5 separate regions of the Homo sapiens genome follow, and all the other regions are linked to region 1. Evidence: promoter capture Hi-C in 16 types of primary human blood cells and fetal thymus (Javierre and others, 2016). All regions are on one chromosome and are shown on one strand. Each heading gives the region's core, a stretch centred on a gene start or on the middle of the fragment in contact. The rest is flanking DNA. Distances are from core to core; before and after follow the strand shown. Region 1 holds the start of KIF24 (kinesin family member 24). Region 2 holds the start of CCL27 (C-C motif chemokine ligand 27). Region 3 holds the start of CCL19 (C-C motif chemokine ligand 19). Region 4 holds the start of SIGMAR1 (sigma non-opioid intracellular receptor 1). Region 5 holds the start of DCTN3 (dynactin subunit 3).

The links. The method cuts DNA at HindIII sites, captures the fragments that hold promoters and counts their contacts. A CHiCAGO score of 5 or more calls a contact.
Region 2: a contact is called between the fragment with the promoter of CCL27 here and the fragment with the promoter of KIF24 in region 1, in 1 of 17 cell types (neutrophils). The highest score is 6.0, in neutrophils.
Region 3: a contact is called between the fragment with the promoter of CCL19 here and the fragment with the promoter of KIF24 in region 1, in 8 of 17 cell types (naive CD4 T cells, neutrophils, fetal thymus and 5 more). The highest score is 9.3, in naive CD4 T cells.
Region 4: the fragment with the promoter of SIGMAR1 here is called in contact with the fragment with the promoter of KIF24 in region 1 in 10 of 17 cell types (fetal thymus, naive CD4 T cells, M2 macrophages and 7 more); the score reaches 9.6 in fetal thymus.
Region 5: the fragment with the promoter of DCTN3 here is called in contact with the fragment with the promoter of KIF24 in region 1 in 17 of 17 cell types (naive CD8 T cells, M0 macrophages, non-activated CD4 T cells and 14 more); the score reaches 19.5 in naive CD8 T cells.

Annotation. Positions count from the first base shown.
Region 1 is chr9:34,326,816-34,332,364 of GRCh38, forward strand. KIF24 (kinesin family member 24) reads right to left here and starts at 2,453. Exons shown (of 13, transcript NM_194313.4): 1 at 2,291-2,453. It overlaps NUDT2 (nudix hydrolase 2), which reads left to right and starts at 2,754. Exons shown (of 5, transcript NM_001161.5): 1 at 2,754-2,784. RefSeq lists enhancers at 2,120-2,179, 2,280-2,379, 2,467-2,974, 2,510-2,699. The HindIII fragment of the contact is 30,936 bases long and covers 1-4,444 here.
Region 2 is chr9:34,659,079-34,664,824 of GRCh38, forward strand. CCL27 (C-C motif chemokine ligand 27) reads right to left here and starts at 3,579. Exons shown (of 3, transcript NM_006664.4): 1 at 3,486-3,579; 2 at 3,206-3,338; 3 at 2,812-3,001. The coding sequence starts at 3,555. The coding sequence ends at 2,866. It overlaps IL11RA (interleukin 11 receptor subunit alpha), which reads left to right. Exons shown (of 13, transcript NM_001142784.3): 9 at 681-822; 10 at 1,196-1,315; 11 at 1,426-1,522; 12 at 1,776-1,858; 13 at 2,404-2,824. The coding sequence ends at 2,420. It overlaps LOC730098, which reads right to left. Exons shown (of 3, transcript NM_001320038.2): 3 at 5,085-5,746. RefSeq lists an enhancer at 550-1,051. The HindIII fragment of the contact is 12,066 bases long and covers 2,311-5,746 here.
Region 3 is chr9:34,689,863-34,694,885 of GRCh38, forward strand. CCL19 (C-C motif chemokine ligand 19) reads right to left here and starts at 1,414. Exons shown (of 4, transcript NM_006274.3): 1 at 1,229-1,414; 2 at 348-480; 3 at 68-161. The coding sequence starts at 1,277. It also overlaps a transcript of PHF24 not described here. The HindIII fragment of the contact is 13,722 bases long and covers 1-5,023 here.
Region 4 is chr9:34,636,054-34,641,844 of GRCh38, forward strand. SIGMAR1 (sigma non-opioid intracellular receptor 1) reads right to left here and starts at 1,734. Exons shown (of 4, transcript NM_005866.4): 1 at 1,494-1,734; 2 at 1,167-1,367; 3 at 944-1,036. The coding sequence starts at 1,644. RefSeq lists a silencer at 1,484-1,973. The HindIII fragment of the contact is 14,478 bases long and covers 1-5,791 here.
Region 5 is chr9:34,616,662-34,621,901 of GRCh38, forward strand. DCTN3 (dynactin subunit 3) reads right to left here and starts at 3,834. Exons shown (of 7, transcript NM_007234.5): 1 at 3,708-3,834; 2 at 2,015-2,099; 3 at 1,224-1,310. The coding sequence starts at 3,803. It overlaps ARID3C (AT-rich interaction domain 3C), which reads right to left. Exons shown (of 8, transcript NM_001017363.4): 8 at 4,388-4,897. The coding sequence ends at 4,797. The HindIII fragment of the contact is 4,259 bases long and covers 1,773-5,240 here.

The DNA of each region.
Region 1 (5,549 bases), core at 1,203-3,702:
TAAGTGGAGAAAGTATATGCTATGATTCGTCTTCAAAGTTCACTCTCCCAGTTCTGTGAGGAAATGGATCACAGCAGGTGGGCAAAAGTGGAAACAGGGAGATCATTTAGGAAGCTACTGCACTGAACTGACAAAAAAAAATGCTGACTTGGAAAAAATGTTTCCTTTCATGAGGGTTAATTAGAATAATGTAAATTAACTGCTACATTCAGTGTCTGATATATAAACACTCAACAATATATTATACTATTATTATTAGTTTATACCTACAGAAAACTCTTCTTATTCAACACGATATGAACATCAAAACCCTTGAGACAGTAACTTGGGAGGTATACAATGACCATACACTCAAGGTTTAAGAAGTAGAACTCTATTATTTATTTAACAAAATGTGTTGAGGATCTACACTGTGCAAATTATAAACTGGTTTGCTGAGCCAGCATAGGGAAACTGGATTAATATATCAGGCATCATAGAATACTAGATCTGGAAGGGATCTAGAAGAGTTCAGCCCCTCACTTTACGACAAAAGAGCAGCCCAGAGAAAGAAACTGTGGTTCTCCCTAAACTAAAAACTGAGAGGCTCATACCTTAGGTTGCCCCAAGGACACACTCTGAATAACTAAAGATTTTCATTAACAATATAAAACCACAAATTTTAAATAAAATGCTATCTTAGCAGTAATGTGCTACACTAAGAAAAATGTAATATGCATATAAAGCCCTGGATACAGTGCTTTGTACGGGGTGAACACTCAATAAATGGTAACTACTACTTTCAGCAGCTAAAAAAAAAGTCTGTATGGTCTTTGGAAGGCTGAGAGTGTGTGGTCTACCTGACATCAACTACTTGACTTGAGAGTAGAGCCACAGGAATTTTAATCTAATTCAATTCTTTGATTTTCCAGATGGAAAAAATGAGGTCTAAAGGGGCTAGATTCAGGCGTTCAAGGCTGCGGTGAGCTATTATCATGCTAGTGCACTACAGCCTGGGTGACAGAGCAAGACATTTTCTCTAATAAAAAAAAAATAATAATAATAATAAAGGGACTAAATGACTTGCAAAGCCACCCACAGTGAATTAGAGACAGAGACAGAGCCAAAGCCAAACCCACATGTAGTGGGTTTCCACTACATGTCACAGCTATAAGGTAGTGTTTCAAACTTTTATAAAAGGGTAACAAGAACATAGCTGCTGTACTGAACTTTTTCACTCCTTTTATTAAGGCCACCAGTGAGCTATGAATTTGATATAAGGAGCAATCACACCAACAATCAGGCTGTGAATATATAATCCATGAGTTAACAACGAAACAGTCTTAGGAACGCAATTCTATCATAGACACCTGATGAATAGATGGAGTTCACCTGAGCAGCTGTTATATGCACTTCAATAGAGAGACTACAAAGCCTCTCTACTTGTAGAATACAAGTACAAAGAAGATGCTTTAAAACATTTTCCAAAGCACACTTAAAATGTGACAATAGCTGCCGGTCACTAAGAAGCTAAAGGGAGATAAATTATCTTGGCATACAGCAACAGAATGGTTTATTTTAAGCAAAGACTAAAAGGAGTCTAATAAAATTATTGGGAGACCAAGGCTAAAAGCCACAGATGCAGGAAGAGTTGCAGCAACCAATCCAAAAAAGTTTAGCCTTTCACAAAGAGTAGAAAGGCCAGCTGTGGACTGTGTGTGGACTTTTAGGTCCTTTTGCATTGAAGATTAGGGTGGCCTCCCCCTAGCCTCGAAATAAAAAATCGTCTCTGAAGCAGAGAGACAACAAGGCAGGGCATGAAGAGGAATCCAATCTATTTCTTGTAAATTAAATTCAACTCAACAAATATTTCCTGAAAATCTACTATGTGCAAGACATTGTGAACGATGCTTGCCTTACCTCAAAGGCTTCAAAATTTTATGGGAAAAGGGAAGCGAACGGGCTTCCCGGAAGTAAACAACCCAAGGGCGAATAGAAATGCCCTAAAAGAGGTGCCGGTCAGGCTTATCGGTTCAAAAGCAAGAAGGCTTTGGGACTCAAGAGTTTAGTCTCCCAAAGTGAGAGAAGTGGCGTTCAAGATAATTGCTGAAGAAAAGGCAGAGATATGGGGATGAAAGATAGGAAAGTAGGTGAACTTTAGGAAGAGCCAAGAGGGGCCAACTCTCGGTTCCCTCACAACTGCCAGTTTCCTCCCGCGCTCAGCCGACGTCACGCGCACCCGTGTCCGCGGGCAGGCGCCACGGTTCCGGACCAGACCTACCCCTCCTCTATTCTCCCCGCCCTTTCTCACCTCGGTCCAAACTCCTCGGTCTGCCCTGTCTGAGAAGAGGAGAAGACAATGCCGTCGGGAGTGAGCCCCAAAGCCCGCAACCTAACAGTCCCGTCAACCCGGGAGCCACCGGCGGCGGCCAGGCCGCATCTCCATGGCAACGCCGCCAAGCGCCAGTTCGAACGCCCGCGCTGTGGCCCGCGCGTCGCCAGTCCCGCACCGCCCACCAATGGGCATCCAAGGAATCGGTTGACGTTCGTTGACTTCTCCTCTGGAAGACCAATCAGAGGTCTGAAGAAACCGTGGGCGTAACTCTCAATTTCCGACCTTCAGCCAATCGTTCCGCTTGAGGGAAGATCTCGCGACGTTTCAGTGTGAGACGCGCACCTTTGAGGCGGGTCGAAGATCCTTCTGCCGAATTCTATTGATGGGCCCAAGCGTAACCAGGCTCTTCTGATTGGCCGGTGTACTTCAGTTTCCGTCCAAGGTCCGCCTCCTACCTCCTTCTGCTTCGGGTGAGTACCCTTAAGGGCCCACTTGATTTTAGTTCTCAGTGGAGGAAATGAGCCTTGGAGCGATGGGAATCTGCCTCTGGCAAACCTCTGGTCGCTGCAGGGCCCGAGAGGGATGCGCCCTCCTCTAAGTTGGCAGTGAGGTGTGGGCAGGCCAGGTCCCATCCGCTCTCAGGACCTCAGTTTTCCTGTCTGCACCGGGAGAAGGGAGGTTCCCTGACTCTGAGCCTTGCTTGTCCCCGTCGGAGTGGGGATAGGGTGGGTCGTCCAAATCCCAGAGGCGGGAGAGGTCCAGGTTTAGGGCCCAGAGGCCCAGGCGCCGAACCTTCCCCTCCCTGGGCCTCAGTTTCACTTGTTGCTACCCATTAAACCCCGCCTGCTTTCCAAAAGAGATTTTATGTTTTCTAATTGCTTCAGTTATTGAATGGATAATATCGTGGCAGTTATAGCAGAAGTAAAGAAAGTCGAACAAGAGCCCCACCGCCTTAAACAAACAAACAAAAAAGGGACAGCGTAAACAATGCAGGCCGGGTGCGGTGGCTCACGCCTGTAATCCCAGCATTTTGGGAGGCCAAGGCGGGCGGATCACGAGGTCAGGAGATCGAGACCATCCTGGCTAACACGGTGAAACCCCGTCTCTACTAAACAAAATACAAAAGTTAGCCAGGCGTCGTGGCGGGCACGTATAGTCCCTGCTACTCGGGAGGCTGAGGCAGGAGAATGGCATGAACCCAGGAGGCGGAGCTTGCAGTGAGCGGAGGTCGCGCCACTGCACTCCAGCCTGGGCGACAGAGCGAGACTCCGTCTCAAAAACAAAACAAAACAAAAAAAAACTGAATGCAATCAAATTGTCAAATGTAAAACGCTATTATAGAGTTAAGGTTAAGATCATTGATGTTAGGAGTCAGGCAGACCTACATTTGAGTCACTTACCCAGACATCTCTGAGCTATAGTTCCCTTTCTACTCTTCTGAAAAATGGCAGTAATGCCTCAGCGGGTTGTTGTGAAGATTAAGTGAAATAATGAAGGTAAAGCACTTGACACAACGCCTGGCGAGTAGTAACTTCTTAAAAAATGGTAGCGGCCGGGCGCGGTGGCTCACGCCTGTAATCCTAGCCCTTTGGGAGGCCGAGGCGGGCGGATCACGAGGTCAGGAGATCGAGACCATCCTGGCTGACACGGTGAAACCCCGTCTCTACTAAAAACACAAAAAATTAGCCGGGCGTGGTGGCGGGCGCCTGTGGTCCCAGCTACTCGGGAGGCTGAGGCAGGAGAATGGCACGAACCCGGGAGGCGGAGTTTGCAGAGAGCAGAGATCGCACCACTGCACTCCAGCCTGGGCGACAGAGGGAGACTCCGTCTCAAAAAAAAAAAGGTAGCTATTATTCTTATAATAAGAACAGGCAAATACACTAGTCAGTGCGTTGGTGTACTTTTTGTAACTGAGTACCCAATTTTGCCCAAAATTAGTCAGTTAAGGGAAAAAAGGTAATTCTTACTAATAAGGAAACAAATCCATTCTTCAAAAGATAAATTATTTTTCTAGTTTCTATATTAAAAGGAATTTATGCTGTGGGACCTTATAAGGAATATATATACTGTGGTGAACAGTGTTGAGCAGTTTAACAGACAAGATGAAAAGTCATTTCTTTAAAACAGAGAAGCTTTTTGATGATCTTTTATGACACACGGGTAACAGTAACTCATATATTTAGTACCTCTGATAATGTCAGACCCTCTATATATGTCATTTATAAACTCCACAACAACCATGCAAAGTAGGTGTTAACTTCATTTTACAAATGAGGAAGTTAAGTATCTTGCTCTAAGTATCTTGCTCTATTAACTTCAATAGCTAGGCCTTTCTGACTGCATAGACAGCCATGCTTTTCTGTGTTTCTGACTAAAGGAGGATGAAAATGCTTGGAATACCAGACAGATGCAGGGGCAGGTTGGACAGCTTGACTTACCTAAATTGGAGGGAATGTGAGCTGCAGAGGTACCTATGGTAGGAGCAATATCTTGCTCTAATAGAAAATTTTCACCGTGGTCTTGGTAGAGAAGGGAGGAGAAAAAAATTGTTTTAATAAAAATAATTTTAAAAAAGTAAATTCCCACCTTGGGAAATGAAGAGATAGGATGAGATGATCACTGAACTTTAGACCCATCTGTTCATTTATCTTATGGATAGACTATAGCACTTCAAATTCAACTTGTCCCAAACAAATGCTTCACTTGCACCCCCTCCTCCACCCAGGCACTCAAACCAAAGCCTTTCTCTTTCCCTTGGCTTATGAAACATCTCTCTGTCCCTTAGACAATGAAATATCACTATTGTCCATTTTACTTTGAAATATCTCTCAGATTCATCCCTTCCTTTCCTTTCTCACAGCCTCTGCCTTGATCTAACTGGAATCATTTGTTAACTGGTCTGTTGCAATAGACTTGTAACTGGTTAATCTCTCTGCCTCCAATCTGTCCTAATTCGTTCCCCAGCTTGCTTGCAGCTAGAATATCTTTGTAAAATGTCAGTCTGACCAAATTATACCCTTGCCTAAAACCAGTCAGAGGCTTCATTGCCTACAGAATATAAACTAAGCTGTTTACCAATGAGATGTCATTTTGTGCTTGAGGGTGTTGCCCACACTCCTCCCTTTGCTGGCAGTGCCTTGCATCCGCCTCCCTTCTGCCTGGTAAACTAGTGACCCATCAGAATCCTTATGGGGTACCTTGTTAACCTAAAGATGCTTCTTTGCTGCCTTTCCAT
Region 2 (5,746 bases), core at 2,329-4,828, 330 kb after region 1:
CATGCCTGGCTAATTTTTGTATTTTTAGTAGAGATGGGGTTTCACCATATTGCCCAGGCTGGTCTCGAACTCATGACCTCACGATCTGCCCACCTCGGCCTCCCAAAGTGCTGGGATTACAGGTGTGAGCCACGGCGCCCGGCCTAAAAATAACTCTTAGGAAAAGGAGTGCCTTTCACCTAGAGGCACATTCTCCTACAAACACTCATATACCCAGCTGAGGATAGCAGTGAATTTGTGTCTCAGGAGATGTTAAAGATTGGCTGGTATCAGGACTAGGGAGCAGCAGCATCAGATAATAACTAATATTTACTTAGTGCTGCCTGCCTGTGGGGTACCTGGCTACACTTTTTGCATACATTGTTTTGTTTAGGTAGATTCACCTCTATTTTACAAATGAAGAAACTGAGTCACAGAGAGGCCCAAAGGGTCATTCAATATGTGGTTCACCAAAGATTTGAACCCAGGCTGCCTGATGCCACAGCCTCTCTAAGTAATCACTACTGCCGTCTTACAAACACTAGGTGTAGACTCAGCTCCACCAGACACCCAACATGAGACCTAGACAGCTCCACTAGGCTTTAGGATGAGACTGGGAGCAAGGGGTGCTCTTTGTAGATGGTGGCTGGGAAGGCCCTGCACTTACAAGCTGGGTAACAGTGAGTCATGTTTACCCCCAGGTGGAGCCAGCTGGACTGGAGGAGGTGATCACAGATGCTGTGGCTGGGCTGCCCCATGCTGTACGAGTCAGTGCCCGGGACTTTCTAGATGCTGGCACCTGGAGCACCTGGAGCCCGGAGGCCTGGGGAACTCCGAGCACTGGTGAGAGACAAAGCCAAAGAAAAGGGCAGAGGCCCCATCCCAAAGCATCTATCAGCTGAACCAGTTCCAAAAGACAGGCAGGTGGCACATGCCCTGCCCACACAGGCACGGCAATTGCTGTCCCAGACTTCAGACTTGTTTGCCTACAGCCCTGTCTTAGCTTAAGTCCTGCCCCTTGGCCTCCACCCCTGCAGTTACAGGCTCCACTTCTACAAGCTTGGAGCTTGCCATGCTCCCTAGGAGCTGGCCATGCCCTATCAGGCTCCTCCTCCTAGGTACCTTGACTTCCAACCTAGGCCTTGGCCTTGAGCACAGGACGTGACCCCCGTCCCCACCAGCGTATGGACACTTATTGGGTCTTGCCTTCCTTTAGGGACCATACCAAAGGAGATACCAGCATGGGGCCAGCTACACACGCAGCCAGAGGTGGAGCCTCAGGTGGACAGCCCTGCTCCTCCAAGGCCCTCCCTCCAACCACACCCTCGGCTACTTGGTGAGCTTGGGCAGATGGGCAAGACTTGTAAAGGACTGAAAACCCCAGAGAAAAGGGGACACCGAGCTTGGTCAGGCTTGCTCTCAGTGACATGTGGCCCTCCCCCTCAGATCACAGGGACTCTGTGGAGCAGGTAGCTGTGCTGGCGTCTTTGGGAATCCTTTCTTTCCTGGGACTGGTGGCTGGGGCCCTGGCACTGGGGCTCTGGTAAGTGACTGCCATTGGTCCCTCAGCCTCTGATCCTCACACATGCTCTGATGCCCATAGACCACATTCATCTCCACCCTTCATGACTGCCCGCTGAACCTGTCTGATTCTGGAACTACCTCCCCATACCTCCATCCCCCATGCCCCACTTGATTTTAACTGATTCCTCTCCTGACCCTTTACTAATAAACCCTTTGGCGGAGACTGAGATAACCCACATTGTTGGAGAGACAGCTGCCTTTCTATGCCCCAGGCTGAGGCTGAGACGGGGTGGGAAGGATGGATCCCCAAAGCCTGGGTTCTTGGCCTCAGTGATTCCAGTGGACAGGCGTCCAGGTGAGTAGGACATCCAGAAGATTTGGACTTGGAGATGTTTGCCCCTATTTTGAGTGTCCAGATTAAGAGCTGGCTGCCCTAGTCATTTTAAAACATGCTGGGAATCCAAGTTGGGTCTCCTCATTTTAATGATGTCTAGGCTGAGGGCTGGGCCTTTCATTCTTGAGTCCCTGGGCTCAGAAGTGGGTCTCTTTCCCTCCTCTCAGGGTACTGAGGAAGGACCCCAGGTGGACTTCCCTTCAGGGTATTAGTATTAGTACTAATACTCTTCCAGGGTATTAGACTCAGAGCTGGATATTCATCCTTTTTTTTCAAGGTGTCTTGGATCAGTGCTAGGTCCCCTCCTTCATTCTTAATGTGCCTGGGCCCAGAGCTAGGTCCACTCCCGTATCTTCAGTGTGTTGAAGAGGCTCCCTCAGAGCTGGGCTCCTCTACTCATCTTCAGAGTGTTAAGCTTAGAACTGAGTCACCTCCCTCATTCTCAGGGTGTCTGGGCCAAGATCCGGTCTTACTGTCTCTCCTGATTTGCCTCCTGCTTCTTCTAGGAGCTCCAAACCTGTAGAGGACCCAGGAGGGCTTCGGCAGATTCCACCTATAATTCTGTCTTGCTGGTGTGGATAGAAACCAGGCAGGACAGTAGATCCCTATGGTTGGATCTCAGCTGGAAGTTCTGTTTGGAGCCCATTTCTGTGAGACCCTGTATTTCAAATTTGCAGCTGAAAGGTGCTTGTACCTCTGATTTCACCCCAGAGTTGGAGTTCTGCTCAAGGAACGTGTGTAATGTGTACATCTGTGTCCATGTGTGACCATGTGTCTGTGAGGCAGGGAACATGTATTCTCTGCATGCATGTATGTAGGTGCCTGGGGAGTGTGTGTGGGTCCTTGGCTCTTGGCCTTTCCCCTTGCAGGGGTTGTGCAGGTGTGAATAAAGAGAATAAGGAAGTTCTTGGAGATTATACTCAGAAATTATTATCCAATGCTGCTTTATTATTTGGCTATTGGGGGCTTCAGCCCATTTTCCTTAGCATCCCAAAATTCAGCTTGGGCAGAGTCCCATGGAGCTTTCTCTCTTGGTGCTCAAACCACTGTGACAGGCTGGGGTTCTGGGGGTGGATGCAGATGCTGCGTTGAGCCAGGTGAAGCCTGGGTAGAGAAAGGTCCAAAGCTATGACCATAGCTTGGGGATGAGATTAGGGTCATCCCCAATGACCCTAATTAGGGGTTAGGAGCAAGGACCAGATGAAAACCTGAGTTGGCAACAGAATTAGCAGTTAGGGCTGGGGTTGGGATCAGCATTAGGGGTTGGGACTGAGGTCAGAGTCAGGGGTATCAGGGGTGGGAGCTCACACGAAAGCCTGGAGGTGACAGTCCCCGTCAGCCTCCTGCAGTTCCACCTGGATGACCTTCCTCAGTAGCTTGTCTGAGAGTGGCTTTCGGTAGAGCTGAGTACAGCAGGCAGTGCTGGGTGGCAGTAGGAATGCTAGGGGCAACAGGGCCATGTGTTCAGAGGGATCCTGACCAAGAACCTCTCTGCCAGACAGCTGGAGGTTAGGTTGGATTTCCTGGGTCTTTTCAACTTCATCCCATTCACCCAGACCCCCAGCTTTCTATACCCCCAAGTACTCACCTGCTGTAGGGTCTGGGCTCAGGAGCAATGACAGCAGCAGGAGGCTGCAGAAGGTTGGGGGCCCCTTCATGTTGCTCAGCCTAGACTCTTCCTTCTCTCTCTCTCCTCCTCCCCTACCTTTTATCTGGGTGCCTTTTACCTGGGGCACTAGGTGAGTCAGAGGCAGTTGGAGATGTACTGTGTAACCTGTGACACTCCTGGGCCCTAATTCTCGGCCTGTTGCCACAGACTCCTTCCTCATCTAGGATAGCCATTTCCCATGTGCTCCTAAGCTCTGGGCAGTGAAGCTGGGGGAAGGATTAGTGTGTGATGTAGGGACTGATGGAACAGTGAGTAAGGGCAGTCAAGCATCCACAGCAGCATCTAATGATAGACATTCACACTCAAATACGCATAGCCACACATTCAAAGTCACTCCTCAATCACTTGGTCAACCTCACAAAGTCATACTCATGATCAGACAACCGTAGACAAAATTATATAGCCCCGGTTATACTCAAAGTCCCTCTCCCACCCAATTGTGTTTTCACAGTCATCCAATCACAAGCAAATTCACACTAGCACACACAGATTCTGACAGGGGAGTTGTGGGTGGGGTGGGAGCAGAGGGCAGGCAAGCACCAACTTGCCTTCACCTTCTCCTCCCCACTTCCTGGCTTGGCCTGCCTGTCTTATCAGAAGAAATGGATGGGAATGGGTCCCTAGAGCAGGCCCTTCTGGCTGAGGAGGGTTCTTGGCTGAGGCCAGCCCCATTCAGAGAAGCTGGGGGAAGGCCCTTTATGGTAATATTAAGGGTGTTTTGGAGATGCTGAGGTGGGGCAGCTTTCCCCAGGATGATGAGACAGGGAGGAAAGGTGGGGTAGATAAGGAGGGAAGATAAAAGCTCTTTGGTGCTAGGTTACTGTTGTCAAAACAGGTAAAAGGCCCAGTGAATCTTACCTTCCTGTTTTTGTCTAGTCCTGTTCCAGGAATGCCAACCTCTTGCCAGCAGGGGCCTAGGGTCTCCAGATCCAGTCCCTGACTTGTTGAAGACATTGGACTCAAGCACTCAATTACATCTTTGTTTTACTCAAATTCCAGCCTCCTTCCTGGGCCTGGAGGAACATCCCCTCTCCCTACCCGGGTTCAGTCACACCCTCATGTCCAACTGCTATACCCCCTGCATCCCACCCTCCAGCTATAGCCGCTTCTCTCCTAATCCCATACCCAGCTGTCACTCCGTTCTTTACCCCCTCCCTGCAATGCAAAGCTCCTATTCATCTTTATCCAGTCCTTTCCAGGAAGCTGGGAGCTGCCTAGGGTGGGGGTATGCTGCCAAGTTCAGTGCCCCTGGCTCCTTTAAGAATTTCCCACTCCTGGTCCAGGGATCTCAATCTGCAAGTCCTGCTCTATATTTGAAACATAAACCAAGTCATAACACAGTAATCCAGCCCTTATCTTGTTGCAGTCGTCTGCTGTAGGGTCAGCCACTCTCTATGGAGTAGGCTTTCTCTTGGGATAGGGCTTAGGCCTTTCTCTTGTGTCCCAAGGCTTGTTGGGTGTAGCCACTGAGGAAATCCCAAGGAAATCTCCCAGGTTCCTCGGGCTTGTCATAGACCTTCTTCATCACTTGGCTGTGCGCTACATACTTTCTGGTCTTCCCTGGGCTTGTCGGTCCAGAAGTCTTCGGAAGGCAGAAAACAAATGCTTTTGGGTGTGCACCCATCTCTCCCCTTTAAGACCAAGTCTTCTCCCCAGCCACAATCTGCTGTAGCTTTGGCCCCAGCCAGAAACTGGGCCATCTCTTTCTTTAACTTAATCTTGTGGTGCCCTTTCTGGTGCTGGGTCCAGTCCCTAACTGAAGGCAGGCCCACATAGCAGTCCCTGATTCTCACCACTTGAGGAGTTAGTGGGTCCCAGGCTGATTGGGTGACAGAAGGGGGCGGCAAAGAGCAGTGGCCCTTGGACTCTCCTAGGGAGGGAGCAAGAACTTCTAGGTAGGCTGATGCCAAGGATCTCTAAACTTGGGATCAGACTGGAGGAGCCAAAAGTTGGGGTATGAACTGTAGGAAAGGTCGCCAACCCAAGTCGCTCCTCTGTGGCAGGCAGCTTCTAGGAATCTCCCCCTCTTACCATTTACAGCCTGCATCCTACACCTCTGCTTAAAATGTTTTAGATATACTCCCAGCAGAGAAGATTCTTCAGACAGCTGGCAAAGTCCTCGCTCCGAGGAAGGGAGTAACAGGCAGGATTATTTAGTTCTCTTCATATAGGCGACTCAC
Region 3 (5,023 bases), core at 164-2,663, 360 kb after region 1:
ATCATGGGCTGGAATCTTAGACAGGAGCTCAGAGGGAGGAGACAGGGCCAGGGAGGGCCAGGCTTGCCTTGGCTGAGGTCCTCTGCAGTCTCTGGATGATGCGTTCTACCCAGGGCTGGTCTGGGGGTGCACAGAGCTGGCGGCCCCTCAGTGTGGTGAACCTGGGGTGAGAGGCCGGAGAGAATGGAGCCCCAGAATCCAGCATGCCTGGGGACCATGTCTGGGAACCTGTTTCAGGGATTTCCTTGAAGGGGTTGGGCTTGGCATGGAGAAGGGGAATAAGAAGGTGGGAGTCTCAACAGGGGCTAAAACGGGAGATGAGGCTAGACACCCTCCCCACAACTCACACTACAGCAGGCACCCTGCAGCCATCCTTGATGAGAAGGTAGTGGAAGTTCCTCACGATGTACCCAGGGATGGGTTTCTGGGTCACAGACAGGCAGCAGTCTTCAGCATCATTGGTGCCACTCAGAGTTGGGGCTGGGATGGGGAAAGAAGGTGACAGGACACAGGGACCCTTGAGGGTGGCATGGCCATGGCCCTAGCTCGGATTGAGGACACCTGTGTGTGTGTGTGTGTGTGTGTGTGTGTGTGTGTGTGTGTGTGTCTGGTGGGGTCGGGGAGGAGTTAGACCTGGTATTCAGCCATTATGCACCAATATGGCTCTGGCTCTACTGGTTGCTAAATATATTGTCATACTTCTAAACTGTTTTGTAAATAACCACTGCCCTGAGCCCCACAAATGACTTCCTGCTGCCCTGATCACCCCAACCTCTCTCCCAGGACAATCCAGCAAGTAAAGAGTTAATGCAGGTCACAGTGTGGGAGGGGCGTGGGGTAGGGTAGGCTGGTGTTAGGAGCCTTATTAATTGCTAAAATTTTTGAATATCAGCCTTGGCTTAGTGTCTGCCATTCTCCCTACCTTAAGCAAATCTCCTTCTGCCTGGGAAACGGAGGCAGCAGGAAATAGAGCTTGCAGAGACAGTCACAGCCATAGGCCCCAGGATGTGCTAAAAGACACACCCGCATTGGGATTCAGGGGCACAGGGACACCCACACTTACAGGCACACATGCAGGGACCTGCCAGGCTCACCGAAATATACAGACCTAAGCATTTGCCTGAACTCACCATGTCCCTTACGTCCAGTGCCAAGCAATCTGAGATCTAGACATTACCCACTGCCAGCCCCCCACTGCCTCTGACCCTGACTCTCCCTTCAGCCTTACCTGGGGAAGTCCAGAGAACCAGCAGGCTGAGGGCCAGTAGCAGGGCCATGGAGGGTGAACAGAGGCAGGCCAACGGTGAATGTGTGAGCGCCAGCTGTCTGGGTGTGTGCAGGATCTGTGTGAGGCTGCAGGGCGACTGGGATGCAGGGGTGAAATGCAAGGTGTGAGTGATGTGAGGCTGGGAATGTGAGCCCTGCAGCTGACTCCTATTTATGGCCAGAGCTTCACTTTCTCTGCCTGAAATTCCCCTTCATGTCCCATTCTGTGATTCCCCTGTTGCCCCCCTCTTTCTGGCAGAATCGCACCCTGCCCCCCTTCTTCCCCCTGCGGTTGCCCTTTCCTTCTGCTTTCCTTGGCTCCTGCTCTGAGAACTTAAGTCTGCAGTCTGGCCCAGTAAAGGGGGCTGTGCACTGTTTCTCCAGAGAGAGGGATTGCCCTGTCATCCCATTGATGGCATTTGCATCATCAACCATGAAGCTGGGGTTCAGAAGTGATGGTCAAAGGTGGGGCCCACAGTGAGGAACTGTGCTCCCTTCCTTAGGTTTATCCCTTGTCCTCACTGGTGCTTCTTTCTTGGGCTGGTGGTGAAGAAGGCTCCCTGGCACCCTCAGGACAACCATGAGATCCTGGGGTGGCCTCCAAGGTCATCACTGTGCCTGCCCACTATGTGGGAACCAGTCCTTCCCTTGGGGCAAGCAGAGCTGAAAGGCCAGGTACCTTGGGAGGAGGCCCAGGACCCCCATCCCACATCTCAGGCCTCTGGGGCTCAGCAAACCCTCCCCTTCCTCTATTTACTGTTTTCCTATGTCCAACACCTGGGTCAAAGGAACAGCTGGAGGGAGACTGGCTTGGAATAGCCCCCTTCATTTTCCCCCTTTTCTCAGTCCTGGGAACCAAGAGGGGATTTCTAAGGAGAGGGGCTGGCCAGCTCATATTCAGACAAATCTTAAAATTTCAAGGAATCGGCCGATGGGGGAGGGGACAAGTGACTTCCCATCCTTATGAGAAAGGTCAGAAGAGAAGGCCTTGAAAGAGAAACTAAATGTGAAACGCCCAGTCACCCGTCGTCACCCAAACCCTAGACCCTCTTTTGGATGGAGAGAGGGAGGGGGAACATTTCCCTCTTAAATTTCTGACTTAGCTTCTTTCCATTCATTAATCATAATAATAGTAATGGTATTTTTGATTGTTTACTATGTGCTAGGCTCTATGTCAAGGACTTTACCACTATTACCTTGCTTAACTTTCCCAAAACAATACCATTGATGTAGTTTTTCTTATTTTCACATTATTATTCTTATTTTACACATAAGGAACATGAGGCTCAGAGCACAAAGCCACACAGCTAGTAAGTACTGGAGCATGATTTGGACCCAGGTGTGCTCTAGGGTTTGCAGTCTTTACCTCCACTCCACACCGCCTGTCTGCCACTTGGTCATGGCACAGCACGGGTAGTCACGGTGCAGAGGAGGGAGACTCTGCAGACAGAGCGCCTAGCTTGGGATTCAGATTCCACCACTTACTAACTGCGACAAGGTGAAAATTCTCCAGTTTCTGTGTCTTAGTGTCCTTATTTGTAAAATGGGAATGGTAGAAGATCTACTTCTTAGGATTAAGTGAGGAACCCTGAGTAAAGCCCTTAGCTTAGAGGCTGACGCACAATAAGCTCTGTTAGCCATTGTTCTTCTTTTGTCCTTTTTTTTTTTTTTTTTTTGAGACAGAGTCTCACTCTGTCACCCAGGCTGGAGTACAATGGCACGATCTTGGCTCAGAGCAACCTCCACCTCCTGGGCTCAAGGGATTCTCCTGCCTCAGCCTCCTGAGTAGCTGGGATTACAGGCACCCACCATCATGCCCGGCTAAATTTGGTATTTTTAGTAGAGGTGAGGTTTCACCTTGTTGGCTAGGCTGGTTTCGAACTCCTGGTTTCGAACTCCTGACTTCAAATGATCTGCTTGCCTCCGCTTCCCAAAGTGTTGGGATTACAGGCGTGAGCCACCGTGCCTGGCCTTCTATCCTTTTATTCAGGTATCTGTTCATTAATTCATCCATCCACCCCTCTTTCCATTGATCTATCCATTCTTCTGTCCATGATGGTTCTGGTTATTCTGTTTGCCCCAGCCTATCCATTCTCCACTCTTCACGGCCCTGCTCTGCTCCCTGGAAGGCTGACCTCTGCAGATAGCATTACTTAGGGTCACCTGCTTTCTGGCTTCTGTTTGGGGCTGGCCCATGGGAAGCAGCAACTGATCAGTGGTGGAAGGAGAGAGGGGTATTAATTCCCCAAATCCTTCATCTTGCTGCAGTTCTGGCAGTGAATAATTTCCCCTGTGGCAGTTGTTCTCAAAGAGTAGCCTTTGGGCAGCAGCAGCAGCATCACTTGGGAGCTTGTTAGAAACACGAATTCTTAGATTTTACTTCCCACTTACCACATCTGAGACTCTGAGGATGGGGTCCAGCAAACTGCATTTTCACATACCCTCCAAGTGACTCTGATATGTGCTAAAGTTTGAGATCCAAACGAGCCTCAGGGATACCATCAAATATACCTCATCACAGGAGTCTCAGGAGGAGAATAGAGAGAACAGGGCATTAAAAAAATTGAAGAAATAATGACAAAACATCTGAAATCTGATGAAAAGTATGTATATACATATCCAAGAAGTTCATTACGCCTGGCCTGCTATGTTGTTATGTTTATCAGAGATCTTTGTTTCTTTGTGTGGCTGTAAGTTATTACTTTTTGTCCTTTTGTTTCATTCTGAAGGTCTCCCTTTAGCATTTCTTTGTTTGTTTTTTGTTTTTTCTTTCTCCCTTTAGCTTTTCTTATGGGCAGATGTACTATTAATGAACTTCCTAAGTTTTGTTTATCCAGAACAGGAGTTTGAGACAAGCCTGGCCAACATGGTGAAACCCCATCTCAACTCCTGACTACTCAGCTACTCAGGAGGCTGAGGCAGGAGAATCCCAAGGCTCACCTTGGCCTCCCAAAGTGGTCTACAGATTGAGGCCCACTGATCTACAGTGATCCTTTTGGGTTGCCTCCCTTCCACGGGTCTATCTCTATTCTTTTTTTTTTTTTTTTTTTTTTTTTTTTGATACAGAGTCTCAATATGTCACCCAGGCTCTAGTGCAGTGGCACAGTCTCAGCTAACTGCAGCCTCTGCCTCCTATGTTCAAGTAATTCTCTTGCCTCAGCCACCCGAGTAGCTGGGATTAGAGGCACGCACCACCACGCTTGGCTAATTTTTTTTTTTGAGATGGAGTTTCACCCTTGTCACCCAGGCTGGAGTGCAATGGCACAATCTCAGCTCACTGCAACCTCCGCCTCCTGGGTTCAAGCGATTCTGCTGCCTCAGCCTCCTGAGTAGCTGGGATTACAGGGACCCGCCACCACACCCAGCTAAGTTTTTTGTATTTTTAGTAGAGATGGGGTTTCATCATGTTGGCCAGGCTGGTCTTGAACTCCTGACCTCAGGTGATCCACCTGCTTTGGCCTCCCAAAGTGCAGGGATTACAGGCGTGAGCCACCATGCCCGGCCTAATTTTTGTACTTTTAATACAGATGAGATTTCACCATGTTGGCCAGTCTGGTCTCAAATTCCTGACCTCAGGTGATCCACCCGCCTCGGCCTCCCAAAGTGCTGGGATGACAGGCTTTGGAAACACTGTTCCCTCCTCTTGCCCCTTCAAGCCTTTGTATGATAATGGTTTCTCACCATTGCTAGACCCCAACTGCCTATCATCCCATGTTAGTTCCTTAATCCTGACCTAATCTCTTAAATTGTCCCTTTA
Region 4 (5,791 bases), core at 484-2,983, 310 kb after region 1:
TCTTTGGAGAAGCCATGGACGGCTACCTCGCTTGGCCATGGACCCACTGTATGGAAGTCTGCACTCCCAAGCCTCACTCGAATCAAGCAGAAATTTAGCTAAACCTGGGCTGGGCTTGTAGCTAGGAAAGGGGTAGTTCCAGGACTTGTGAGGCTTTATCTGAAAAGTGTAGCTGTTCAACCACCATGCCTGCGATGCATACACCCAACCTCAAATATACTGGGAAGTCCAGTGCTCTATTTCTTAAGTAAATTGTTTCACTATTAAAAAAAAAAAAAAAAAAAAAAGGCAGGGGAGCGGCCGGGCGCGGTGGCTCACACCTGTAATCCCAGAACTTTGGGAGGCCGAGGCGGGTGGATCACGAGGTCAGGAGATCGAGACCATCCTGGCTGGTATGGTGAAACCCCGTCTCTACTAAAAATACAAAAAAAATTAGCCGGGCGTGGTGGCGGGCGCCTGTAGTCCCAGCTACTCGGGAGGCTGAGGCAGGAGAATGGCGTGAACCCGGGAAGCGGAGCTTGCAGTGAGCCGAGATCGCGCCACTGCACGCCAGCCTGGGCGACTGAGCAAGACTCCATCTCAAAAAACAAACAAATAAAAAGATAACTGTCTGTCTTGTCTTTTGGGGTATTGAGAGCATTTCTGATTACCCATTGTCTCCCCAACAGTTGTTGGAATACTGTCTGGGCAAAATTGTGCCTGGGCAGATAAAAATCAGACATGTTTAATAGGAAGTTGTTATGTTTTGTTTCCCCTTGACAGAGGAAAGCAAGAGTCCCTCAGCTCTGCCCCAACCAATCACCTGTGGCTTATGGGAGGGTGGAGGAAGGGAACCATGAGGAGGGCCCCCCCAACACACTCCTTTTCCATGCCATGCTCCCCGCAATTGTGGGCACCCCCCGCGTGAAGGGACCCACTTCTCTGACAGAGCCTTCTTACCCACCTGGGTAGAAGACCTCACTTTTGGTGGTGCCCTCTCTCCACTGGTGGAAGGTGCCAGAGATGATGGTATCCGAGATCTCAGCCCAGTAGCGCCCTGAGTGACAATCGCACATGACACTATCAGGGTATTCGCGCCATTGCATGGCCCAGCCAAACATCAGAAAGGAGGGCATGGGCCCCTTTACAACCCCAGCCTCCCAGTCTGGCCCGCCGCTAGCACTGACCCGAGTGGCCGCGGGAGCCCAAGGCGGTGCCGAAGAGCAGCACATACTCGGACAGCGAGGCGTGCAGAAGGCACATGGCGCCCATCCAGCCACCCGCATTCACGAACACCCACTGCAGCTCCTCGTCGGGCAGCACGTGGCCTGGGTGCAGCCGCCGCAGCTCCACGATCAGACGAGAGAAGGCCAGCTCGTGGTCCAGCCCTGGCGGAGGCAGAGGGGCGGCGGAGTCAGGGCTGGCACCGGTCCTAGGTCCGGGGATGGCGCCTTCGGAACCCTAGGCTCCGCTCCCAGGCCGGCCGCTCCCCTCCCTGCCCTCTGCCCGCTCACCAGCGTACTGCCGCGCCAACTGCGCTATCTCTTCGCGCTGGAAGACGAAGCTCTGCGTACCCAGCCAGAGCCAGACGACCTGGGTCAGCACCGCTGCGACAGCCAGGAGCAGCGCGGCCCACGCCCACCGCCGGCCCACGGCCCACTGCATCCCGGCGGGCGGCCTGGCACGGCGCAGCTCAGGAGGGAGCCGGGGCCTGAGGCTTTGCGCTCACGGCCTCGGAGCCCGCCGGCTGCCCACGAAGCGCTCCCCCGCCACCGCCGTGGTACGGCTCGCCCTGACCAATCGGAGCGGCCCGGGCACCTTGGCACCGCCCTTCGGTTGAACCATTTCCTCGGGGGGAGCACGGAGGAGTGGGGCGGTGCCGCGCAAGGGAGGCAAGGGGGCGGGGCCAAGTCGCCCAGCGGCAGATGTCAGGGTCTTCAGGCGAGGTCTGACCTAGCTAGCGCCACTCTACATACGGATAGGTGTGGGGATAGTGAGACCCAGAATGGACGGGCTCGCCCGAGCTCACTGGCTGGTGAAGCAGACGAGCCCGGAAGTGAAGCCTTCTGGGACTCAACGATTGTTAAGGCCCGCCTTTACCAGGACTGAAGCGGAGAGGAGGCAGTTCAAGCTGGGAGCCCCAGGGTGGGCATTCCAGAGGCGGTGACACCTGAGCAGTGTCTTTAAGAGCTCGCAGAAGGGGCATGCCAGCCCACAGGGACCAGCCCCTAGAGCAAAGGCCTCCGAGGAGAGACAGCTTGGGGTCTTCAGGGGCCTACAATTCCTTCTCTGTTCTGCGGCACAAAATGTGAGAGGAGGCCTTGTAAACCAGCTGAGGGTTATCAGCAAGGGAGGAAGGGGATTAGATTTTGCCACCGAGTGGCACAGGACTGTCGAGTGGAGGGGAGCAAGATGAGTCAGGGAGACCATGACTGTGGGCCAGGTAAGAGGGAAGGTCTGTGTCAGTGGAGATGGAAGAAAGAAATGAGCTTAACAACTCTGGAAATGGAGTTGGCAGGGCTTGATCTCTTCTTCCTGGAATACTCTTTCCCCCTTTATCCTATCCCCACTTTCCCCTTATTTGGCTAACATCCTTTGCATGTCTAGTGGGCAGTTGAGTGTCCAGGTCTCGAAGCTCAGCTCCAGTCTGGAGATAGAGCTGGGAGTTGTCATTCATTCAGATACTTTGTTGGCACTTGTATGTGCCAAGTTCTGTGGTGGCCATTAGGGATATGGCTAGAAACAATGGTCCTACTCCCCAGCTTAGAGATCTCACTGGAGAGTCTACAGAAAACCTCTAAGAATGGATGAAATCTCACAGGGAGAGAGAATAGAGTAAGATAAGGCTAAAGACAGAGCCCTGGAGAGCACCAACAGCAAAGGGTAGGCAGAGGAAGAAGAAAGCAAAAAGGAAAAGAAACAAAAGAGAAAAGAGGTAGCATTGTGCAGTGATTAAGAAATAAACTCTGGAGCTGGACTGCCTGAGTTCAAGGCCTGGCTCCTGCTACCTACTAGTTGTCTGATCTTGGGCAGTTTACTTAAAATCTCTGTAACTTAGTTTTCTTACCTGTAAAATGGAATGGAGATAAGTACCTACCTCATAGTACATATCTTCATTGTGATGAGATTAGATGGGTTAATATTTATAAAGCAGTTAGTGCCTCACATGGTGAGAATTTTATGTGATGGTTATATATATAAAACATAAAGGAACTGGAAAAAAGTAGCCTCATACATTTTTGACCTTAAAGAAAGAAACTGAGGCCGGGCGAGGTGGCTCATAACTGTAATCCCAACACTTTGGGAGGCTGAGGCAGACGGAACACTTGAGTCCAGGTATTCGAGACCAGCCTTGGCAACATGGTGAAACCCCATCTCTGCAAAAAGTACAAAAATTAGTCAGGAGTGGGGGCGCACACCTGTAGTCCCAGCTACTCAGGAGGCCGAAGTGGGAGGATCGCTTGAGCCTGGGAAGTGGAGGTTGCAGTTGAGCCAACAGAGGGAGACTCTGCCTCAAAAAAAAAAAAAAAAAAAAAAAAAAAAAGGGCCAGGCACAGTGGCACACACCTGTAGTCCCAGCACTTTGGGAGGCCAAGGTGGGCAGGCAGATTTCCTGAGCTCAGAAGTTCGAGACCACCCTGGGCAACATGGTGAAACCTCGTCTCTACTAAAATACAAAAAATTAGCCGGGCGTGGTGGCAGGTGCCTGTAGTCCCAGCTACTCGGGAGGCTGAAGCAGAAGAATCGCTTGAACCCAGAAGGTGGATGTTGCAATGAGCCAAGATCGTGCCACTGCACTCCAGCCTGGACAACAGAGGGAGACCCTGTCTCTAAAAAAAAAAGAAAAGAAAAAGGGGCCGGGCACTGTGGCTCACACCTGCAATCCCAGCACTTTGGGAGGCCGAGGCGGGTGGATCACCTGAGGTTGGGAATTTGAGACCAGCCTAACCAACATGGAGAAACCCTGTCTCTACTAAAAATACAAAATTAGCTGGGCGTGGTGGCGCATGCTTGTAATCCCAGCTACTCAGGAGGCTGAGGCAGGAGAATCACTTGAACCCAGGAGGCAGAGGTTGCGGTGAGCCGAGATCACGCCATTGCACTGCAGCCTCAGTGTGAAACAGCAAAACTCCGTCTCAAAAAAAACAAAACAGGCTGGGCGGGGTGGCTCACGCCTGTAATCCCAGCGCTTTGGGAGGCCGAGGCAGGTGGATCACGTGGTCAGGAGTTCGAGACCAGCCTGACCAACATGGTGAAACCCCATCTCTACTAAAAAATACAAAAATTAGCCGGGCGCGGTGGCGCGTGCCACCCACTTGGCCCAGCTACTTGGGGGGCTGAGGCAGGAGAATCGTTTGAACCCGGGAGGTGGAGGTTGCAGTGAGTGGAGACTGCACCATTGCACTCCAGCCTGGGCGACAGAGTGAGACTCTGTCTCAAAAAAGAAAAACACACAAACAAAAACAACAGTGAGGAAAAAAAAAAGCTGAGGCAAAATTAATATAGAGAGTTTATTTGGGCCAAGGTAGAGAACGACTGCTCGGGACACTTTTCCAAGTTGCCTTGGGGAATGTTGATACAAGCATTTTTTATTTTTATATGTGGTTTTTATTTTTATTTTTTATTTTCTTGGAGATGGATTCTTACTCTGTTGCCTAGGCTGGAATGCAGTAGTGCAATCTTGGCTCACTGCAACTCCCGCCTCCCAGGTTCAAGCTATCCTCCTCCCTCAGCCTCCCGAGTAGCTGGGACCACAGGTGTGCACCACCATGCCTGGCTAATTTTTGTAGTTTTAGTGGAGACAGGTTTTTGCCATGTTGGCCAGGCTGGTCTCTAACTCCTGACCTCAGGTGATCCACACTCCTCGGCCTCCCAAAGTGTGGGATTACATGTGTGAGCCACTGCACCTGGCCACTTTATTTTAACTTAATTTAATTTTATTTTTTTTGAGATGGTGTCTCCACTGTCGCCCAGGCTGGAGTGCAGTGGCGCAATCTCGGCTCACTGCAACCTCTGCCTCCCAGTTCAAGAAATTCTCCTGCCTCAGCCTCCCGAGTAGCTGGGACTACAGGCACCTGCCACCACATCCAGCTAATTTTTTTGTATTTTTAGTAGAGATGGGGTTTCACCATGTTGGCCAGGCTGGTCTTGAACTCTGACCTCGTGATTTGCCCGCCTCGGCCTCCCAAAGTGCTGGGATTATAGGCGTGAGCCACCGCGCCCGGCCTATTTTTATTTTTTGAGACCGGATCTTGCTCTGTTACCTAGGCTGGAGTTCAGTGGCACGATCACAGCTCATTGCAGCCTTGACCTCTTGGGCTCAAGGGATCATCCTGCCTTGGCCTCCCAAAGTGCTGGAATTACAGGTATGAACCATCATGCCCAGCCACAAGCAAGTTTTTAAAGGCAAAAGAGGACAAGGAGTGGGCTGACACAAAATTGTTTAACAGGAATTCTCATTGGCTTACAGAAACAACATTGATTAGTGATTGGCTATACCTTGTTGAACTATAGGGTATGAGTTATGGTGTCTAGACTATGGCATTTTATGGCTATGTGGTATCAATTTAGAGCCCACATAGCAAGTGGCTTCAAGGGGTAATTATTTGGCTCCATGGGGGTGGGGGAAGGTGAGATATGACTGCTGTTACATGCTGTCACTTTTTTTTTTTTTTTTTTTTGAGACTGAGTCATACTCTGTCGCCCAGGCTGGAGTGCAGTGGCGCAATCTCGGCTCACTGCAACCTCCGCCTCCCGGGTTGAAGCGATTCTCCTGCCTCCGCCACCCAAGTAGCTGGAATTACAGGCACCT
Region 5 (5,240 bases), core at 2,584-5,083, 290 kb after region 1:
TGGGAAGGGTATTCAAGAGAGAGGACTGTTACGTGCAAATGCTTAGAGGCAGGAATGCCTGTCAATTAGTAGAGGAGAAAGAATTCAATTAGCTGAACTGGAGTAGGGAGAGCACAGGAAACAGAGTTGGATGGGAGGGTAGACCCGGCCGACTGAAAGGCTTTGAATGGCAGACTATGGAATTAGGACTTTATCCTAGCAAGGCAGGATACACTGAGGTTCCAAAGTAGGCAAAGTGACATGTTGGGAACATGTTTTTGTGAGGGTGAGACTGAACCACATGCAGGAAGGGAAAGATTAGGGTCAAGAGTATGATTTAGGAGACTGTGCAACCATTCATATGCAAGTGGATGCACAATTCCTGAGGCAGTGCCACAGGGAGGGATGGAGAGGCTGGACTCAAGAGTCAGTGCAGGAGAATATCTAAACTTGGTGCTTGAGCGATGGCAATTGACCAAGAGCCCTTTGGGAACTCTGACAGCCCTTTTAGCAGGAGTGGCCCATCCTTACCCAGTCCTCAGTGCTGCATTGCACTGATCAGTCTCCTGGGAGACTGATCTCCCATCTGGGTTATAAGCTCAGGTCCCTGAAGCAGGGACCCTGTCTCCCCTAGCTCTGGCTGTGCCCATGAGGGCAGGGACTTTCTGGTTCACCACTGTATGCTTCCTCACTTAGGAAAGAACCTGGATCAGAGTAGATGATCATTATACATCTTTTGGATGAATAACGAAGCTCAAAAAACCCTAGCTTATAGAATGGCTGACTGATTAGCAGACATTGCCAAGGCAATAGTTCCTGCCTAGAACTCTGACACTGCAGAGCTTTCTCACATGAAAGAAAGATGTTGAAACTCATGCCAATACTCTCTCTGTTCTTTAATGGCAATGCTCTCTGCCCCTACCCTTTCCTAGAAGCTCCTCTGTCTAGTGAGCAGAAGTGAGGAAGGTTCTGAAGGAAAATCCAAGAGGCAAACTATTGATAGAACACTGGACTAGCTCCCACTGTGGCTGGCACCATGGCCTGCAGCTGGTGCAGAGGTATACTGTACTCAATGTCTACTAGAGGATCCATAGGATCCTCAACCCAGAACCAGGCCACAATTCCAGAGAGCAGCATCCAGGGCTTGTATCCACCAGAAGACTGGATGGAGAGGCCATCTCTGTGCTTAACCTCCCCGACGACCCACATCCTCAGATGCATGTACACATGTAGTCCAGCATTACCTGCTAGGATGAATTGCAGCTTAGAGGCATCAGGTATGGCAATGCGGTCGATGTACTCAGGATCCAGGTACTTGATCAGATCTTCAACTAGAAAAGTAGCAAGATGGAAAATGGAATAGGGTTGGGCAGTAGAGCTCTGCCTTATGAAGGATGTTTGACAAGTGGTCAGCCTTGAGGAGAGCCTTCAATGAGGAGCTGATACCCAACAGTGCCACATGAGCAGGGCTCCACCAGGCTCCCTATCCCCACTTCCCTATCTCTCCACTCTCTTCTCTTGAAGTCTCTTCTGACATCAAGCTTCAGAGCTGAAAACACAATTGCCACCACCACTCTGGGCCCTTAGCATTCTCACTGACCTATCCTCACCAAGGGTAGAAGGCCTCTTTTCTCCTAGATGTCACCGAGACAAGCCAGAGCTTTGTCTAATTTCTAGTTACTAAGCAGGTTACTAGTTCTGACATAACCAGGATCTCAGTGTCTAATTTGTTTCCTGCCCCTTAACCTTGCCTGGGAAATCCCATACCCTTTTTACCCTCCTTCACCAAGAGAAGCTTTCAGGTAGAGCTCTTATTTCATAACTTAGGACACTGTCATGGGCTTGAGGTTTAGCCACAAGGTAGAAAAGCACACCACAATTTACCAATTGAATTGGGTGTAGGTAAATGTCCTCATAATCTTTCTATCCCCAAAGGGCTATTCCAGTGACCTAATGAACTGAAGGGCTAGGGCCAGGTACCAGGAAGCTGAGGGGTGGGATGTCGGGCAGGCAGGCACATCATGGAAGCACTTACTCTTTTTGTAGAGAATCTTCACCCTCTCCCTCTTGCTGGAAATGTTCCCCAAAGCCACCTGCACCTTGACCAGGCCGTCAGCCACCTGTAAGGGAAGTGGTGGTTAATTCCAAGATATACTACCTGGCTCAAGGCTTGGAAAAGTTAAAGAACCCTCATTCTCCCAGACTCTCAAACCTGAATCCCAGTAATCTAGGTTGGCCTCCCTTCTCTAATATTAAAGGAGATGCAGCCCCACCTTCCAGGAATCCTTAAAGTGGAGAGAGAGAATCATGTACTCCTTGGGGAGTTTCAAGTCTGATGGGGAAGATAACGAACTATTTTAGAGTCTATGGAATATAGAGTATACACAATATATTTTCTGGTTCCTAAGTCCTGGGTTTGGGCATGAGAAACACAAGCATCCTCATTCAAGCCTTCATGACCTCTAGATTGGCTGGCCTACCTCTAGCCCTATCCCCTCCACATCAAATTTGGTGTGGGAGATGGAAGAGTCCAAACAACTGGGATCCCAATGATGGTGCAATCACTGAATTAGGGAATACAGAAGAGAATCAGGTTAGGGGAGAGAAAGAGTACAGTTAAGGGCATACAGATTGAGTTTGAAATGACTATTGGATATCCAAGTGGAAAAGTCCAGTAGACAACTAGACATAAAAGTCTGGTTCTCAGAACAGAAATCTGGACCAGAGATATACATTTGAGACATATTGACATGTAAATAGTAATTGACACCATGGAAGCGAGTGAGCCTACCTAAAGTTTAGGGGTAGAATGTAAAGAATCCCAATATTAAAGGGTCAAATAGAGGAGGAGACTAAGGAAGTGACTGCACTCACCCAGTTTTTAGGGTAGAGGATGAGGAATGCCAGGGGGGAGGCAAATAACACTGAGAAGCAGCCGTAAGAGGTAGAAGGAAAACCAGGAGGGTCAGCGTCATAGATCCCAAAGGAAGAGAATGTTTGAGAAGTTAGTTCTGAAATGGGAGCACAGTCTGCTAGTGACAACTAATTCCTCATTTAGTGTACAAACAGACATCATTACCTTGGACGCACTTAGCTCCAGGACATGCCTGACACGCCATCAGAAGTTCTTCAATAAAAGATCTTCCCATAGTAGAAAGGGGAGGAGAGGGCACCTGAGCTTCGTAGTTGTCAAAATTCTGTCACTGGTATAAAGCAGTGCTAGTCCACATCTGAATACCCAGTACCCAGTCTCTTCCCTTCCTAATCCTGGTCCTTTCAGACCTCACTTCTCACCCTTTGGCGTTTTCCTTATCCACCTCTGCTCTGCCTCCCCAGGGGTCCCATGGACCTCTTCCTGCACAATTCATTTAGCAATTAATTATGCAGGGCTCTATGACGGGCCTTCCTATCGTGGACTTCAGCTCTTATTGAAACTCTCATTAGTCAGCTTCTCGTGTCAGGTCTCCCCAACTATAGCTCGCGAGGGCAAGGGCGGAGTCTCAGCTACAGTAGGTACGGAGCCCACTCTCAGGCTGGCTTAACCACCCGCAGAGCCCCCTATGACAGTGGACCCCGATGGTCCAATCAGCTCTGGGAGGTCCCGGACCTTTGTTATTTCAAAGGCCGGGCTGCGGAGAACAGGACTGGAGCGGTTGCATCCCGAGGGCCAGGACAGTGGACCGCTCTTGCTCTGCTCCAGAAAGGGACTACCGGACCAGACTACTCACCTTCCGTGAGCCGCGCGCCCCGCCCGGCCCGTACACCCAGCGCTCCAGCTCTTCCACTCGGGCCTGTAGCCGCTGCAAGTCAGTCAGACCCGCCATCGCTACTACCGACCCACCTCGGCCAGGAAACAGCCAGAGGGCGGGACGTCAGTCCAAATAAGAAGGCTAGCCAATCCGAGTGCACGAGCGGCCCTTTATGCAGGAAGTGACGCCATGATTCAGCCCTTCAGTGCCGGAAGTTACTCCTCGGAGCTGTCAAAAGCTGATTACCTTGGCAACGGCTCTGTCCCATCCCTCCCCTGGCTTCCAGTGCCTGGTTGTCAAGATAACCTTTGCTTTTCGGGTACCAAAGAGCTTTCCCCACGCCATTCCCTGAGTTTGCACGTGTTCCAGGATAGGTCCATTCCCATAGATACATCATTAGGAGGCTCCGTGAGTTACCATAAACTTTTGGAGTCTTCTAAGGTTCAGTTGATTAAGTAACTTGCCCAAGGCCACCCAGCACTATAGGGACAGAAACAGGACTTGAACTCAGGCTGTCTGATTCAAGAGACGGAGCTCTTCTATTCTCACGAAACTTTGCTATTCTGCCTTAACCTCTGAAAGCCCCTGGCCCAAGGCAGCCTATGTTCCACATCATTCCTCCCCACCTCCCATACCCAAACAAGAAAGGAGGCATCAGAGAGGGAGGGACCGCAGCTTTATTGTCTAGATGTGACCTGAGGGATGTCTCTTTCACAGTACCCCAACCCAACCTTTCACTTGGCTCCTGAAGAGAAGCAGGGCTGACTCAAAAGGGTAGGGTCCTAGAGATGACATTGACAGAGGGAACACATGAGGAGATGATGGGGTTACTGGAGGAAGAACCCTTTGGTAGGTGCTGCTGGAATTGGCCAGGGAGGAGGTGCCCTCCCTTTACAATGAGGTAGGTGTAACATCAAAAGAAACTTTGGTTTTAAGTCCACATGGCATGGGAGGTGTCGTCCCCTCCCAGGGCTGGGTCCCAGAGTGGGCAGCCAGAAAGAATCAAAGCAGGGGGTCTCCTCCCCCCTCAGCAATGGGGCTGGGACTCTTAGTTTCAAGTAGGACCTCTCAGGGCAAGATGCTGGAAGGGGGCCCTGTGGAGGGTGGGGGTGCAGGGTTGGTTGGACCCTGGGAAGCTGGCACAGGCTGGCGGCGGGCAAAGAGGACACCTGGCAAAGGGGTGAGGAGATGGTAGAGGGCAAAAACAAGCAGGAGGGGGTAGGGTATGGAAACAGAAGAGGGGAACAAAAGTAAGTGTTCTGGTTGCTAGAACACTACACACGTACCCCTGCCACAAACCAATGAGGACAAGCTCCTTGGGTCAGTAAGAGACTCCATTGCTAATGTAGATACCTCAAACAGGTAAACAAGGAATATTTATGCTGATACATAGGCCCAAGACAAGGCAGACATCCCCTGGTACTCATGCCAGAGAGGTCATGCCTTGGATCCCATGCCATGTAGACACCCCCTTTAACCCATGCCAGTCTAGCAATCCCCTGAACTCCATGT